Linked DNA regions of Homo sapiens: region 2 is linked to region 1. The links are contacts of gene promoters, found by promoter capture Hi-C in blood cells and fetal thymus (Javierre and others, 2016). All regions are on one chromosome and are shown on one strand. Each heading gives the region's core, a stretch centred on a gene start or on the middle of the fragment in contact. The rest is flanking DNA. Distances are from core to core; before and after follow the strand shown.

Evidence for each region. The method cuts DNA at HindIII sites, captures the fragments that hold promoters and counts their contacts. A CHiCAGO score of 5 or more calls a contact.
Region 2: a fragment that was not itself captured here is called in contact with the fragment with the promoter of PDE3A in region 1 in 1 of 17 cell types (M2 macrophages); the score reaches 6.3 in M2 macrophages.

Annotation. Positions count from the first base shown.
Region 1 is chr12:20,367,265-20,369,793 of GRCh38, reverse strand. PDE3A (phosphodiesterase 3A) reads right to left here and starts at 1,257. Exons shown (of 16, transcript NM_000921.5): 1 at 1-1,257. The coding sequence starts at 509. The region is part of intron 1 of PDE3A-AS1 (PDE3A antisense RNA 1); the gene reads left to right. RefSeq lists a silencer at 1-219. The HindIII fragment of the contact is 3,200 bases long and covers 1-1,515 here.
Region 2 is chr12:18,146,203-18,148,731 of GRCh38, reverse strand. No RefSeq gene overlaps it. Among named protein-coding and RNA genes, the nearest start is that of RERGL, 57 kb to the right of the region's middle. The HindIII fragment of the contact is 4,588 bases long and covers 1-2,529 here.

The sequences.
Region 1 (2,529 bases), core at 8-2,507:
CCCCCGCAGCAGGCGGCCAGCAGCGCGACAGCCAGAGGCAGGCGCACCCCGGCGCGCAGGAGGTACAAGCCCATCCAGAAGAAGGCACACAGGAGACTGAAGAGCAGCGCCGAGGGCTGCAGCCAGGGGCTGAGCCGCGCACCGCCCCCGGGAGCACCTCCCCGAGGCCCCGGGAAGACGCCCCCTTCTGCTCCCGGGGCTGCTTCCTCCTCCTCCGCCGCCGCCGCCTCCTTACACTGCTCCAGGTCACAGCCGACCTCCCCGCGGACCAGCCTCACCAGCAGCGCCAGCAGAAAGGACAGGGAGCCCGCGCACAGCGCGGAGGAAAGTTTCCGAGAGCTCCGGAGCGGCTGCAGCACCAGGTCTCCCCAGCAGCCACGGCAGCCCGAGTCCCGCGGCGATGCGGGGTCCGCACGATGGTGGCAGTCCCGGCCCGCCGTGGGGGCTTGACTCACCCCACTGTGGACGGGCTTGTCCCTGACTCGTGCAGCGTCGCCGGGCACTGCCATGGTATAGGGTGCCCTCTTCACTGAATTCCCAGTGGCCCCCCGACGCCCCCGCCCCGACCCACGCGCGCGCGCGCACACACACACACACACACACGCACGCACGCTCTTCCCAATTCCACCCTCGGAATCCTTCTTCTCCCCAGGCCCACAATCCACTGAAAGTTTCAGCTTTCGAATAACTCCTGGAGAATGCTAGATGCTCCAATGAGACTTCTTCAAGTTAAAGGCTAGCACGCTCAAGTTGAAAACAAGCACGGGCAGAAACGATCAGGATTCCCCTTTTCTCTCTTTGAATATCTTTCACAGATTCTCTGCTCCACCCCCACCCCCGACTTATATCCTCCGGGGTCTCTTCCTACTTCAGGATTTCAAAAATTGCCCAATGCATCCCGCGCGCAGGAGCCGCTGACGCTGGAGGAGCCGGGGGCGCAGGGCGGGCTCCGGGCCATTCCGAGGCGCAGCTCGGCGCTGCGCTGCGCTGCAGCGCGCCGGGCCCGCGGCAGATGGAGGTCTCCCTTCTCCTCCTTCCTGCAGCTCTTTTTCTATCACTCTTTCTTTCTCCTCGGCCGATTCTCCCCGGCACGGCCCCAGGACGCGAATCGCCATTCCCTGGGGCAGAAAGCAAAGCCTCCCCCGCCTCTGTCAATCCAATTCATGGCAAAGGATGGAAAAAAAAAAATGGACAAGGGGCTGAGAAATAAGAAGTTGCTAAGTCCCGTCGGAGAGAGAGCCAGACCGAGAGACTAGCGGCAGCCGCAGAAGGGAGGGAGGGAGAAGGAGCGAGTAAGAGAGGAAGGGAGGGTGAGAAGAAAGGGAGGGTGAGAAGGGAGAAGGAGATTTGCTTTTTTTTTCCCTCCCCACTTCTATTTGATGCAAGGTTGGTGGTGATTTGCAGTTTTGCAAAGGGGAAACGAGTGGCGACGACTGCTTAAAATTGTATAAAACTGGCAACTGGAGTGATCGACAATTCCGCTTTCTTTCTTTAAGGCAACTCCCTAGGAAAGCTTTCTCAGCCGAGCTCCCGCCCCCTCCTGCGGAGGAGGCGCTACCCTCAGCTCGATTGCTCCTTTGCTGGGAAAGCGGCCGGTTCACCCTACAGGCTGGAGCAGGGGCTGCTGAGGCTGATCCACCGCGCAGCCCACCGCAGCCCCGGGGTGTGGGGGGCTGCGGCTAGCCCTGAGGCTGAGCTCCCTAGAACGTTGGAAGGAAAAAAAAAAAAAAAAGATTGTGTTTGCCTACTTGGCAGATGAGAGCCAACATACTTTCTACTGTCCCTGAAAATGACAGCCACTTCTACTGTCTGATTCAAAGATGTTCCCAAGTCAGGTACAACAGCAGTCCAATTTCAGGTGACAGTGTCATCCTTTGGTCGCTCCTGCTGGAAGGTCTGCTTTATGAGAACCCAAGCCTGGCCTGTTGGTTCAAATGATGGAAGAATCAGCCTTACCTAGACCACAATAGTATAAAAAGAAAGGAAGGAGAGGCAGCAGTCATTTAAATCCAGTGCATGAGTATTACACAATAGTTTTTGACTGTGGAAAGTAAAATTACATTGAGATTAAGTGACCGTATCCTCAAAAAAGGTTAACAAAGTTTAAAAGCCCAGATAGTTCATCAAAAAATAAAGAAAAATCTCAAGGGAGAGGTGAGGATAGGTGGGTTAACACTAGGAGAGATCTTAGAAGACTGTCTATGGCTGCAAAATACTACATCTTCGAGCAAAGCATATGAAAAAAATCAGGACCTTAGTTATTAATGAGTAAAGGTTCGTGTACTGCAGCAGTGTGATATTTGAGAAACTAAAAGAAAATTTTCAAGCTAACCTTTTTTTGGCAGATTATGAAAAAGAATTCAGTATCTGTTCAATGGACTTAAACTCTATTGATGTTCCCTGGGATCTAGTTGTCTTTTTAATATGATACTCCACTTTTAACATGGCTATCTTAGATGTCATTTGCCCTCACTAATAATAATCTTAATAATCCAATTTTGTCTTAATTATCTTGACATTCCAGGTTAA
Region 2 (2,529 bases), core at 19-2,518, 2.2 Mb after region 1:
CACACACATACTTATGTTGTGTTTTTTATTTCCCAGTTCTATTTTTTAAATTCCTCACTTTCTTTTGTTTTATAAATTTGTTTGGACAGAATATGTATTCTTACTCTCTTTCTCATGCTTCTGTTGTTTTAGAAGTGATAGAGTATTTGTCTATTACAATACTTAGCTTTAAGTGTGGAACATACATATATAACTAAGTTCTTTAACACAACTTAAAATCTTGCAACATTATTCTCTCCCATCTTTAAAAGACAAGAAACGTCAGCCCTTTAACTCTGAACCATTCCCCTCCCAGTAGTACTAATTACAATCTTAGTTTTATCATTTATATTTTTTAGTTTCCAATTAGCTATGCTATGATTCATAAATCAATAACTAATTCAATTTGCCATTTTACATCATAATATTCATATGACTACTCCTATCTATCTTGGCTGTTTTCTTCTTGTATAAGTATATATATATATACATATATATATATATATATATTTTTTTTTTTTTTTTTTTTTTTTGAGACGGAGTCTTGCTCTGTCACCCAGGCTAGAGTGCAGTGGCATGATCTCGGCTCACTGCAACCTCCGCCTCCTGGGTTCAAGCGATTCTCCTGCATCAGCTTCCTGAGTAGGTGGGACTACAAGTGCGTGCCATCATGCCTTGCTGATTTTCTGTATTTTTAGTAGAGATGAGGCTTCACTGTGTTAGCCAGGATGGTCTCGATTTCCCGACCTCGTGATCTGCCCGCCTTGGCCTCCCAAAGTGCAGGGATTAAAGGCATGAAGCACCGTGCCCGGCCAAGCATATATTTTAATAAGCCTTTCAGTGTGAATTTGGGGACTATGAATTTTCTCATTTTTTAATACCTGAAAATATCTTTATCAGTCTTCTTGAATGTTAGTGTGGCCAAAAATAGAAATTTCAGTGGAAAGTTATTTTTCTTTGGCACATTAAGAACATCATACTTTTGTCTTCCAGTATTTTTTATTGCTGATAAGTATATTGAAAGTCTAATTGTCTCTAATTTCTTTTCAGCGATCTGACTTTCTTCTCTATCTACATTTATAATTGATTATCTTTAATTTCTGATGAATGTAAGTTTTCTGTCAAGACTCAAGTATTTCACTGAGCTTTTGTTTCTTTAAATGATTTCCTACCATTCGGCCACGCTTCTTGGATTCCTGTTAGAGTTGAAGACTCTCAATTTATTCTTTATGTCTCTTAGCTGCTCCTTTATATTTTAAAAATTTACTTGTCTCTCATTACTGCACACCAAGAAAATTCCTCATTGTCTTCTATTAATTATTTGATTTTGTTCACATCTCTTCTATTGAATGTTTTTCTTCTAGAGATAATGTGTTGATTTTTTAGATATTCTCTCTATTCACTTTTTATATCATTTTTAATTGCCCTTTTTCACTTTTGGAGTTGATTCTTTAATGATTCTTTTATTTAGCTTTCTACAGACTGAACATACTTGCTCCTGTTTTTATCTTTTAAAACACTTTGGTTGTTTTCATTTTATCTGGTGTGAAAGCAGCTTTCAAGTGTTAGTGTTTTGGATCATTATTCTCATTGTTAGATTTGATTATTTATTTTGGAATTTTTAATTTCAGGCTCAGTGGAGTAGGACTTTTCACTTTCTGTAAACTGTGCATATCTTTTAGCTTTTTGGTTGACTGCACTCAATTGTTTAGGAATTCTAGTGCAGAATGAAATCTTAGATTAGCAATTCTGATTTCCTGTCCAACAGTGATACTAGAAAACTTTGCATCTTCATATAATTTTCAGTAGCAGCAGAACATGGCAATTTTATCTGGCTTCATTTCATAAGAAATAATTTAAGGAATTGCATGGCTTGAAATAATGAGCTCAGTTCCCACCCTTGTCTTGCACTTCTTTTGTTTTTTGACTACCTGATATCTTTATAATTTTTAACTTTTTATAATTTATCCATTACTGTTACATGTATGGTAGTGTCTTGGAGTATAATATACAGTTAACTTGACTGAAAGTGCATGCTGCCTAATGTTTCATTGTTGTTTGAAGATATAGTGGAGTCATAATTTACATGGATGTTAGGTCCTAAAAAACAGCATGCGTTTTCATGAGTTACATGCAATTACAATTCAATGCCATTCTACGTATTGTGTAATATTGGAAGGGACTTCCTTATTTATCTTTGTATCACCAGTGCATAGCTGGTGTTGAGCCAATGAAGCAATAATTTTTTTTTTATTTGCAACGTTCTCTTTTGTTTCTCCTAATATAGGCAGAAGTTGACATTCTTTTACTTGAAAAGTAAATATTTCATTTTTTAAACCTGTGGGAATAAATTTTCTCTTTCCTAAAGATAGTGATAGTTTCTCATAACATGGAGACTATGAATTATTGTTTTAGATAGGCGATAATTTTGAGTAAAAAGTATTGTAAGTGCTAAATATTTTTCTATGCAAAATATAGCATGTGACAATGGAGAAAGTTAATTAACTATTTTTGAGATTTTCCAGGGGAGACTCTTGAACTAAGTTTAGA